Linked DNA regions of Homo sapiens: region 2 is linked to region 1. The links are contacts of gene promoters, found by promoter capture Hi-C in human tissues and cell types (Jung and others, 2019). All regions are on one chromosome and are shown on one strand. Each heading gives the region's core, a stretch centred on a gene start or on the middle of the fragment in contact. The rest is flanking DNA. Distances are from core to core; before and after follow the strand shown. Region 1 holds the start of LZTS1 (leucine zipper tumor suppressor 1). Region 2 has its middle 71 kb from the start of LZTS1.

Region 1 (6,760 bases), core at 1,108-3,607:
GGGCCAGAACAAAAAGTGGGCTTCCAGAGTCCTTTGTCTCTTCCATGGAATCTCACCTCCGACGATGTGAAAATGAGTTTGAAGTCTGGAGCCCACCTCATACCTTAATCTACCTTCCAGGAGTCTGCTCTTTCCTTAAAGCGCTGGAATGTTTGATCGATATTAACTCATTCAGCTAAAATTCTTGAGATACTCTCACCAGCAAGCAAGAATACATGTTCTCTGTCAATAAATGCAACACAAAGAAGCATGGCGCTTTAGAAAAAGAAGACATTATTTTGCCCTGGACGATAAGAGAAGGTGTGAGTAAGGGTTCCATATTTTGTCTCAGATTTTGAGAGGTAGAGTTAGAAGAGCAGGAGAAAAGCTTTTCAGACTGAGGGGCAGGTTTATACAAAGGTGGGGAAAAGGAGGTGATGTTCAGGAAAAGGCTGAGTAGCCTTTGGGGTTGACACTTAGAAATTGTCGTATTGCTTGTAATTACTGCCACGTGTATGTACTTACCGCAAGGCAGTGGGTTTCATTTAATCATCAGAACAAACCTATACATGAGAAATTCATTCATTTAACAAATACATATTGAGTGCCTACTATGTTGCCTGGCAAGTTCTAGGTGTCGGGGATACATCTATGAATAAAACAGACCAAGTCCCTCAGCCACCAATAAAAGAGAACAAGTTCCTGCCTTCAGGGAATTTACACTGGGACTTGTTACCTCATTTCACAAATAAAAAAAGAAAGAAAGAAAAAGAAAAACTGAGAAAGAGGGAGGGGAAGGTAATGGCTCAAATAACAAGCAGCGAAGCCTGTCTGTGTTCTTAAACCCTCGCGGTGCCATCTTTCAGGAAGCCTAGATTCGAAGGTCAGAGTCTTCAGGGTCAACAACCGAAGGCAGTGAGATTCCCCTACAGGGTTTTGAGCAGGGGTGTGGCAGAAACCATATGGCTTGTTTTCCTTTGAGCTGTCCCCCCTGCCACCACAATTCTATTTAATTTTTTTGTATTTATTTATTTATTTATTTATTTTGAGACACGGTGTCACTCTGTCACCCAGGCTGGAGTGCAGTGGCACTATCTTGGCTCACTGCAACCTCTGCCTTCCAGGCTCAAGCAATTCCCAAGCCTCAGCCTCCCAAGTAGCTGGGATTACAGGCTCCTGCCACCACACCCAGCTAATTTTTGTATTTTTTTTTTTTTTTTTTTTTAGTAGAGACGGGGTTTCACCATGTTGGCCAGGCTGGTCTTCAACTCCTGACCTCAAGTGATCCACCAACCTCGGCCTCCCAAAGTGCTGAGATTACAGGCATGAGCCACCGCGTCCGGCCCCCATGCTATTTATAATCAGATCGGCTATGTCAATCCTAATCCATTACATCTATCCCCCACCCCCCAACACACACACACACACACACACACACACACACACACACACACAGGCTTCTTTCAAGATGAGGCTAACACTCCTTGGGCAGAGCTGCCATCTTCCCGCCAAGCCTGGTTTTAGAGGATTAGCCTCAGTGCACCCTCAAGCCCCCAAGCCTCATGCTGCACCTAGCACTCCGGTTAACTGACCCTTTGTCCTACAAAACCTTGTAAGCTTGAATCCTCTCCTGGCTCAGTTGCTAGAAGTTAAAAGTGAGGGTGGTTGAGAAAATGATAGTATTATAAGGGGACTGGGTGAGACTAATAGCTATAAACTTGAAACAGGCCTCTGCTGTCACCTGAAACTCAGCTCCCTCAGAGCTGGAAAAGTTTGCTTTTGACATGTTTTGGGAGTGGGAGTCCCGGTGCTCTGGACTCTAGCCTGTAATCCTGGTGTGGTTCGCAATGCCCCTCACTTGGGTGCTAGTCCAGTCCTTGAACAAAACACACGCCCTTTAGTGCGAGTCGGGAGCGGGAGAGACGGTATTAAGAAAAATAAACTGGCGATTAAGAGGAAGGGGTAATGAAGAAAGGGGAACATACACAGAACGGGAGAAGGAATGGATTTTAAACAAAACTGGAGTAAGAATTTCAGGTAATGAAAGGGAAAAAAGGATGCGACAAGAGCAAGACAGGAACAATCGGAGAAAGGGGGCCAGGCAAGAAAGGAAGACTGAGGGGGCAGGGTCGCCCAATGGGGCTGATGGAAGTGAGAGCAGAGAGACGGGACCCGGGACCCCGCGCAGGCCGCGGGCGCGAAGGAGCCGCGAGGTCGCGAGCAGCCCCAGCTGTCAGCCCGGAACAAAGGCCGCCGAGCGGCACAGACCAGGCTGCCGGCAGCTCGCTGCCAATCAGCGGCGCCGGCTCTGGCCCCGCCCCGGGCCGGCCCCGCCCCGCCCCGCCCCGCCCCGCCCCGCCCCGGCTCCGGGACCCGCGCAGAGGCCGGCGCGCCTGGAGCTGGCGGGTTGGCAGCGGCCGGGCGGGGAGGCCGAAAGTTTCTCTGCCCGCCTCGGCCAGTGAGTGGGAGCCGGGAGCTGCATCCCGCGCAGTGGGACCGGCCCGGCCCGCTCAGCAGCTCTGGAAAAAGAGAGACGGGAACACACCGGGAAACACTGGGAAAAAAAAAAAGTCTCAAGTGCGCCCGAGGCGCAGGGGGCAGGTAAGGTGCGGTGGCCGGGGATCTCCTCGCCCCTGGAGGGTCTGCTGCCCTGGCTGCGGGAAACCGCTTTCCCCTCGCCGGGCCGGACCGTCCGTGCGTCCGCGCGTCCGTCGGTCTTTGTCTGTCTGTGTCCGTGGCTGTCGAGGTGTCTTTGTCTCCGCGTGGAGCTGTCAGGGTCTCCCCTCTGCAGGGTGGGCGCCGCTTCTCCGGCCCGGCCCAGAGGAGGTGACTGTGCGTCTGTCCTCCTGTCTTTGTCTTCGTGTCTCCTGCAGACGGGGTTCGTCTATTCCCAGCACCGATGCTGATCCTGGCGGGGACGTCAGTGTTAGGTGACACTGGTGTCGGAGGTGAAGAAGTGGGAGGTGGGGACGCGAGGCCGCAGGAGCAGGGGCCGCAGGAAGAGGGTCCGGCGGTCGGTCCGGGCCGCTGAACTTCGCCGCCTGGAACTTTGCAGATGAGCTGTGTCCACACCGGTGGGGAGGACACCGGTGCGTTGCAGCCAGAGATTTGAAAGGTTTCCCTCAAGGAATAAGTCACACGGGCGGAGGTGGTTAGAGAGGAAGGTGGTAAATCGAAGTGTCTAAGTGGCTCCCTGGGGCTGCAGCTTCCTGGGGTCGGTCCTGGATGTGCAATTCAGGAATTTAGTCAAAGCACCATGCACACACAGACAGCCCCACACTACCTTCACTTCTTCCACCGCCACCCTAGGCAGCCAGACCTCACCCCTCCACCCTGCCACAGGCTTTGCTCTGGCTGGAGGGGCTTCAGAGGTCGCAGCTTGGCAGCAACAGGCATCCCCGAGACACCAAGGGCCAGGTGATGTCTCTTTTTCGTGCTCCAAGTGGAAAGGTTTGAACTGTGGAGCAAATGAGCCTTGTGCTCGCCCACGAGTATGTCAGGCCTGGGAAAGTGCTCCAGACTTGTTAGCTTCGCAGTCTTCAATTTCCCAGGAATAAGAAGTGCTTAGGGATCTGGCCTCCTAAAGTGTTTCCTGTCTCACTTATTCCCTCCACACCGTCCCGCTGCCATCAGCCCCTCTACTCTCTGGTCCCGGGCGCTGGGAAAGTACTGAGGAGGCACTGAGTTCTGGACCATGCCGGGCAGGCGCTGCTCCTAATAAGGATCCCACACTCTGCTGGAAGTGCAGCCTAATAGGAATGCTGGGAGCCCAGGAGCCCAGCCACAAAGAGATGAGCTATCTGCTTGGCAGTTCCTGCACCAAGACCCTGAGAAGAGTCTGCGGGTACCGGCAAGAGGGTGTTTGCAACCTGAGCTTTCTCTAAGTTCAAAAACAATTTTCTGCAGGCATCCAGAGGGAGAATGGAGGTGCCCGAAGAGTGTGCGCATATGGGTATTAGAGATAGCATGTACAGACGGGAAAGGTGTTTGTGTTTAAGAGTGGAGTGGAACATAGTCTGTGGGTAGAAGTCTGTGGGCAGAGAGCATGCAGGCTAATCAGGCGTGGCGTTACACCTTGTATTTATCCAGCGCTTTTCTTTGGAGGCTCTTTCTGCTCATCATAGACGTTATCTCATACGTTATCTCCTTTATCCTCACAACATAACTACCAGGTTGGTGCGGTGGGCTCTCTGTGCCTGCCAGTGAAGAAACGGAGGCGTCAGAAGGGAAAGGCTTTCCCTAAGGTCCCACAGCTAATAGGATGGAGCAACTGGGAGTCCTAGTAAGAGGTCTCAGCTGGGTGGATGTGAGTGTGGGGCGCTCACTCTGCTTAAGAAGAGAAGAAAACTAGTAGAAAAAGAACGGGCATCTCTGTGGGTGTCTATATGCAAGCAAAAGGGAGGGCGGGACATTTGATGTGCTGAAGATGGTTGTTAGTTAACATTTATAGCAGCGGCTGTGTGCTTCACGAGGTAAACCTGTCTCAGCAGTTCAGCTTGTGCATTTGTGTATCTGCAGGAGGTGCCCCCAGCTGTGTGTGCCTGGGTCGATGTGGGGCAGGGGTGCTGTCATAGAAGGAGTGCTGCTGCGTGGGGTGCCCTGGGGAAAGCCAATGCTTTGGGAGTGTGTGAGGGAAAGATGTGCCTTTCAGTTTTGAGAAGCCGTGGGTCAGCGTGTATAGCAAAGCTATACATGGGCTCCAGACGTATATAAATGGCTTTCTAATCCTGAAAACTTATTTATATGCCTTTGCGCTTATTCAACGTTCATTTCATAAATATTCATTGGGCGCCTACCAAATGCAAGGCTCTGAGCTGTGCAGCGAGGCTAGGAAGATGAATAATGTAATGATGACAGACCTATGGGTAAGCACCTTATAGACCAGTGTAATGGATAATACCGTAACACTTAATGCCAGCCACTAAATCCACTGTGTGCCTGGAACTTTTTATTCATTATCTCATTTAATTTTCACTGCAGCCCTGCGGGGTATGTATAATTATTAGATGAGGAGAGTTAAGTAATTTAGCCAGGCTACAAAACCGAGGGGCAGGGATTTGAGATCAGCTTAGTAAGGTTCTGGACCCTGGCTCTGTCCATGTTATTCTGCTACCTTTGAACATAGAAACACTGTTTCTTCTGCATGGAATATTCCTGCCTGGTCTCTCTACCTTCTCCACTTAACTGGCTCCCACTTTTTTTTTTTTTTTTTTTTTTTTTGAGACGGAGTCTTGCTCTGTCGCCCAGGCTGGAGTGCAGTGGTGCGATCTTGGCTCACCGCAACCTCCACCTCCTGGGTTCAAGCAGTTCTCCTGCCTCACCCTCACAAGTAGCTGGGACTATAGGCGCCTGCCACCACGCCTGGCTAATCTTTTATATTTTTAGTAGAGATGGGGTTTTGTCATGCTGGTCAGGCTGGTCTTGAACTCCTGACCTCAAGTGATCTGCTGGCCTCAGCCTCCCAAAGTGTTGGGATTACAGGCAGGAGCCACCACACCCAGCCCCACTGTGGGTTTTAACCATAGGGATCAACTCCTCCAAGAAAGTTTCCTCTGTTTTTTCCTCAATTCTGAGTCAGGTACCTTCCTCAGAGTCCCTACCATCATACCAGTATATTATGGCATTTACTCACTGGCTCCTGAGGAGTCTACAAAACTCCTAGAAGCAGAGATTGCATCATGAGTTCCCAGCTCAAAATACAGTGTTGGCGGCGGGGCGCTGTGGCTCACGCTTGTAATCTCAGCACTTTGGGAGGCTGAGGCAGGTGGATCACGAGGTCAGGAGATCGAGACCATCCTGGCTAACACGGTGAAACACCGTCTCTACTAAAAATACAAAAAATTAGCCGGGCGTCGTGGCGGGCACCTGTAGTCCCAGCTACTTGGGAGGCTGAGGCAGGAGAATGGCGTGAACCCGGGAGGGGGAGCTTGCAGTGAGCCGAGATCACATCACTGCACTCCAGTCTGGGCAACAGAGAGAGACTCCGTCTCAAAAAAGAAAAAAAAAATACAGTGTTGGCTTTCAGTAGATACTATGAGTATGCCCTTAGTAAATGCTTGTTTAATAAGGTAAGGGGAAAGATGAGAGCTCTCAGAGACCTTTGGCAGGGAGCACTGTTCCCAACAGTGGATTTCTGCATGGGTGCCCTTTGCTAGTGTGGCCACTGACTTTCCTTCCTCTGTTACTGGGCCAGCTCCTTCAAGGCCTCTCCCTAGATGGGGCCATCTCAGGCCCCACCAACAGTTCGGGAGTCCGAGGGAACACTCGCCCCCACCCACTCTATCTCCAGGTCAATCAACCCACAAGCACAGTTATGGAAGGGGACCATTCTAGGTGTGACCTAGACCTGGGGTTTTAAAATCCTGCACTTTGAGCCGCCACATGGTTCCAGGGCAATGATGAGATGTTTCTGGGATTTTGCCAACAAAGAAGTATCCAACTACGTGGGGAATCTTGAGGTGATTTACATATTAGCTCTTTGAGTTTGCTGTTGAATAGATCTTTGTGCTGCTACAGTTTGAAGCCTGAAATGGACACTCCTAGGCTTGCAGTTGAGAGTGTGAATTGCTACCATGTTTGGGGAGGTAATCTGGCCATGATTTCTCCGAGGCGACGCAGTCAAGTGATTCTCCTTCCATCTCCTTTCCATCGCCCTGTTATTTCTCATATAGGAATTACTACCTGTGTTCTCGGGGCTCCATGGCGATTTAAGTTTTTCTTTTAAAGATCATTGATCAAGTTTGAAAAACTCTGCATTTCACTATTTATTAAAGGTCTTATC
Region 2 (5,795 bases), core at 2,781-5,280, 70 kb before region 1:
ATATCATCTCTTTTGCAGTTCCCTCTTGAATAAGCACTAATTATCCCATAAAAGGAGAATATCTTAAGCCATAGCCATGCAATGGCTTGGCACGGGATTCCTCAGCCCCAGTGATAAGTAAAGTTTTACAGGACTATGAGAATGCCAGCCTGAAGGTAGGTATTCGAACATGTAAAAATCCCTAAGGATAAGGTTTGTTGTTTGGTTTTAATCTACTCTTATAACCTCAACACCCATTAATGTGCCTGGAACATAGAAGTTGCTCAATAAATGTTTGCCAAAAAATGAATGACTGAGTGAACGATGAAGGAAAAGTCCAGAAGACAGTGATATTCCCCTGGGAAAGGTCAAAAGCCAGAAAAAAATTCCCTGGGGTTAGAATTTGTTCCTTTTTTTAAGAGACAAGGTCTTGCTCTGTTGCCTAAGCTGGAGTGCAGTGGTACAATCATAGTTCACTGCAGCCTCACACTCCTGGGCTCAAGCAATCCTCCCACCTCAGCCTCCCAAGTAGCTAGGGACTACAGGCATGCACCACCATGCCTGTCTATTTGTTTTTATTTTTTTTGTAGAGATGAGGGGGGCTTGTCTTACTTTGTTAACCAGGCTAGTCTTGAACTCCTGGCCTCAAGTGATTCTCCTACCTTGGCCTCCCAAAATGCTGAGATTACAGGTGTGAGCCACTGCACCCAGCCCTTTACTCTTCTTGTCTGACCTCCACAGTGTCTTTGACTGCATAACAAATACTCAGTAAATTTACCCAAACTGATATATCTGTAAACCAAAAAAGTATCTGAAATAGGTCTCAAACAATTTAAAAGTTTATTTTGCCATGACTATGAATCATGACCAGTGACACAGCCTCAGGAAGTCCTGAGAACATGTCCCCAAGGCAGTTAGGCTACAGCTTGGTTTTATATGTCCTCAGGAGACATAAGACATCAATCAATACACTTGTTCTGTCAGGAAAGACAAGACAACTGAAAGGATTGGGGAACTTACAGGCCATAGGTGGATTCAAAGATTTTCTGATTGCAACTGGTTGAAAGAGTTAAGTTATTGTCTAAAGACCTTGAGCCAATTGAAAGAAGTGTCTGCGTTAAGGTAAGAGGTTGTGGAGACCAAGGTTCCTATTATGTAGATGAATTCTCATAAGTGGCATCCCTAGAGGCAATAGGTGGCAAATATTTCCTTTTCAGAACTTTAAAATGTGCTAAACTCTCAGTCAATCTCTTCAGAATCAGAAAAAGACCTGGAAAGTAAGGGAATTTGCTTTATAATGTAAATTTTCCCCACAAGAGACAGCTTTGCAGGGCCATTTCAAATTATGTCAAATAAATATATTTTGGAATAAATACTTTGGTTTCTTTCACTTTGGAATAAATACTTTGTTTCTTCGGCCTTGTTATCTGTCATATGATGTTATACTAGAGTCAGGTTGGAATTTGGGATCTTGTTGCTACAAAGAGTCTGTTCCATCAGTTGTAGGATCTCTGTTTTAAAATTAATGCTGGTCAGTTGTGTCTAAACTCCAAAAGGGAGAGGATATAATGAAGCATGTCTGACCGCCAAGCCTCCTGGTCCCATCATGGCCTGAACTAGTTTTTCAGGTTTATTGGGGTCCCCTTGGCTGAGAGGAGAGTCCATTCCATCGGTTGCGGAGGCTTAGAATTTTATTTTCGGTCCACATATCCTCGTTCTTAACAGCTTTGCTGGATGACTCTGTGGCTCGGCCCAGGAGTAGCCCTCCCTCGCTGTCAAAAATCAGTCTCACCACCAGGGGGCAATGCAGACCAAAGACCAGGGTTTTCTTGTACAAACCTCTTATGCCTAACAGCAGGGGGCCCCCAAATGCCATTTGCACCACCAAAGGCAGCATTCCCTCTGCATATTTGTTAACATCAAAATCTCATTTAAGCATCTTTGCTTCTTGGAGTTACATCTGAGGTAATAGTTAAAAAGCCATCCCAAAATCAATAAAAACAGTGGCCTATATTTGGGAAAAAATATGTATAATAATAACTTCTGCTGTTGGTACTGCATTCACCGTTAGAAAAATTCCCTATTGTATTTGTCTAAGCAACTAAAGTATGATCCCTGAGGAGCCTGAAGCATCCCACAGATGATTCATATTTAATTGATAATTAATATGCAGTGAGTGCTGCATAATATCTATGAAATGCACATGAGTCTCTTCTCAGGAACAACTAGCACTAGACTAAAATCTCGTATTTGGAATCCAAATGGTTAGGATTTTAGCTAAGCCCTTCATTGTTCAGTTGTAAAAACAAAACAAAAGCAAAAACAAACAAAAAAAAACTGGTCCAAAATGGGAAAGAGACATGCCCAAGCTAAGGAAGGAAGCAAAAAGGGAATATGTAATATCTGTTGATTCAGGCACTGTATCTCATTAAGCACATATGGAACTGAACTTATTCCATCTCTACCAGGCTATAATTAGCACCCATTTTCTCACATGAGGAAGTAGACTTAGGAAATTACAACACTCTTTGCTTTATTTCACTAGTGCTTTCATTCAACATTGATTGAGCTCTAATTTGGCGCCAGCCACTATGCTGAGCTGTAGGGATAGGGAGACTGTATGACCTCAGGTAAATGGGGCAGAGGCACACAGACATTACAACGACTGAGTATAGTGAGCATTATTCTATAGCCTCAGTTCTCCCTTAAGCCATAGCTTGATATTGTACTGCATTTTGCTGCCTTGACTGTATCATCACCTCCCTCCTTCCCAGGGCAGGTTCTGTGTTGTATCCTCTTTGCTTCTCCAGTGTTTAATATCTTGTACTCCAATAATGACTGGTTGACCAAATGGATGGAAGGAAGAAAGGAAGGGTGGGTGGATGGATGAATGGATGGATGGATGGATGGATGGATGGATGGATGGATGGATGGTGGATGGACAAATGAATGGATCAATGAATAAATGAACAGATGAATGAAGTCTGGCCACTGTGGGTCAAAAAGGGAAAGAAGTGAGACATTGAAAGACTTTCTTCATTACTATATTCTTATTATCTGTGCAGATATTTGATCTGCTTAGCATGTTGTGAACCCCTTGAACTTTCCTGTATTTTTCTACTGCTGGCACATGTTAGGCAGCTTCTAGGTGCTTAGTAAAAGCTTGTGGAATGAGTGGTATTTTTCCATGTTTAACTTCATTCTCTCTCGTTTCTTTGATAAGTTTTAGGGTGGGGGGTGAGGTTCTTCGGTCTTTCATGCAAAGAGGAAGACTAAGCCACAGAAAGGTGAAGTGTCTGGGGGTCTAAATCATCTAGAACTCTGGGATTCGGAGACCCCAGACCCTGGGGCAAATCCTTGAGAGAGCCTGTGGCCTTTACAAGAAGTACCTGGAGGTCCCAGCCCTGAGGAGGGAGGAGGAGAGCCTCCCAGCTGTGTCTGGAGGAAGGCCCCAGGCCTGAACCTTTCAGCTAGAGGTGTCCATGCCCCCAGTGGCCAAAGGGGATTGTGGGAGCTGGGGCTGGCTGCTCTGGAAGAGAGCAGGGAGAAGGAGGCAGGAACAATGGCTGGAGTCCTTTCAATAGAGGAGCCGGGAGGAGGTTGGTGGAACAGCAGGTGCAACTCCAACCCAGACAGCTCAGAGCACTCTGCCCTCGTTACTGCCCCAGCCCTGTGGGGTTAGTGAGGGGCCGCCTGAAACTTGAGGCCCAGGGTGGGGCCTCCAGAGGCCAAAGACAAACCCTGGGTGTCTGTAGTGCTGCATTTTACCCAGGTTTTGAAAGGAGTACGCTTAGTTTGAGGAGGCCTGCCCTTCTCTGTGCCTCTGTTTTCTAATCATTGCAGTGGCGTTATGGAGAAGAATGAGTGAGTCACTGCTAGAAAACACCTGACAGAGGCCAGGTACATATTAGGTGGTCATTAAATACTTTCCCCTCCCTCCCTCTTCACTGTTTCCTGATGTGGCACCTTAGTTTCCTCATGAGTGAAATAGGAATGACAGTCCCCACACCAGCTTTGTCTTAGGGATCTTATGAAAAATGATAATAAGATAGATGTAAAAGCACTATAAAGTCTATAGGTAAAATGTGAAAGCGAGGTCAAACGAACGCATGAGGGCCCCAGGATAGAACACGCCAAGGCAAGCAAATCTCTAAGGTAAAAATCTGGGGGAGAAAAACCTCCTTCAGTTTCATCCAATTTGGCCTGTCCACAATGGCCTCTTTACTCGCTGCTGCCAAACCCTCTCACTATTCCCTCCAGGTGTTAGGAAGGCTCCTCCTGCCGCCGACTCCTCCTCCTCCTCCTCCTTTCTCTCCTCCTCTTTTTCCCCCTCCTCCTCCTCCTTCTCTTCCTCCTCCTCCTGCTCCTTTTCCATCTCCTCCTCTTCCTCCTCCTTTCCCTCCTCCTCCTTTCCCTTCTCCTCCTTTCCCTCCTCCTCCTTTTCTTCCTCCTCCTTTCTCTCCTCCTCTTCTTCCTCCTCCTCTTCTTCCTCCTCCTCTTCTTTCCCCTCCTCCTCTTTCCCCTCCACCATTTCCTCCTCCTCCTCCTTCTCCTTTTCTTCCTTCTCCTCCCCTTCCTTCCCTTCCTTCTTCTCCTCCTCCTCCTCTTCCCCCTCCTCCTTCCCCACTTCCCCTCCTCCTCTTCCTCTTCCTTCTCATCCTCCTTTTCCTCTTCCTCTTTCATCTCCTCCTCCTACATCCCCACTGCTCTCATTCCAGTGTTCACCAGCACAGGCATGTTGCTGCCACCTGTCCTTGGGAGAGGACTCAGATTGCTGTCACTGCCACTGGACAGAGGGCGGGAAGAACAAGCCCATTGGCCCCCTAGCGTCCTGTAAACATGCCCAGAATAGAACCCGCTCAAATGGCAGCTGTTTCATGAAGCTATCCTAGAAAAGCTCACTTGGCTGAGCCAACTCCTCCCTGTGGATGATGGGAAAGTGGAAAGAGGCTAGACTTGAAGGCTGGACTTGAAGGTGGGAAGGGGGAGCTGAAGGCCAGGTCTACATCTGAATCTAGAATGCTGTGTGACCTTGAATAAGTTCCCGAACGCCCTCGACTACAATTTTTTCTCACATCCAAGGTGATGCTTGGTTTTAAGGGTTAAATAAAACAATTAGGGCGTGGTGGCCTGTGCCTGTGGTCCTAGCTACTTGGGAGGCTGAGGTGGGAGGATCACTTGAATCCAGAAGGTCGAAGTTGCAGTGAGCTATGATTGCACCACTGCGCTTCAGCCTGGGCAATGGAGTGAGACCCTGTCACAAAAAAAAAAAAAAAAAAAAAAAAAAAAAGATCTATCTATCCACCTATCTATATCTATATATACATGTCCAGATCTATAAATATATAGGTATAGACTATATGTAGATATAAGTTATAGACAAAGAAATAGAGAGACAAGGAGCACGAGAACAATCCCTCCTGCCCCTGTGGGCATGCCTTTGAACATGACTTTTTTTGGCTGCACCCATCAAGTAATGGAGTTTATTTACCCTTTCCTTGAATCTTGACTGGCCCTGGGACTTGCTTTCACAACCAGAAATGACAACTAGAATGTGGCAGAAGTGGCATTGTGTGTCTTCCTAGTCCAGGTCTCAACAGGACCTGCAGCTTCCACTCTTCTTCTCTTAAATCAGAACTCTTCCACTGCTGTGTGATGAAGCCTGGGCTGGCCTTCTTGAGGATGGGAGATCTTGAGGGGGAGAGGCAGGGAAAACAGTCAACACCAAGCACCAGATGCATCCATGAGGCCACCTTAGACCAAGGGGCCCAGCTGAGCCACGCCAGGAATACACCCATGTTAGTGACCTCTGGAGA

Evidence for each region. Contacts are between HindIII fragments. The study calls those that stand out against the background at their distance.
Region 2: a fragment that was not itself captured here is called in contact with the fragment with the promoter of LZTS1 in region 1 in 4 of the 25 tissues and cell types used here (H1 embryonic stem cells, IMR-90 fibroblasts, aorta and 1 more).

Annotation. Positions count from the first base shown.
Region 1 is chr8:20,299,560-20,306,319 of GRCh38, reverse strand. It overlaps LZTS1 (leucine zipper tumor suppressor 1), which reads left to right and starts at 2,357. Exons shown (of 4, transcript NM_021020.5): 1 at 2,357-2,580. RefSeq lists a silencer at 2,298-2,367. The HindIII fragment of the contact is 20,395 bases long and covers 983-6,760 here.
Region 2 is chr8:20,372,401-20,378,195 of GRCh38, reverse strand. No RefSeq gene overlaps it. Among named protein-coding and RNA genes, the nearest start is that of LZTS1, 71 kb to the right of the region's middle. The HindIII fragment of the contact is 5,824 bases long and covers 1,119-5,795 here.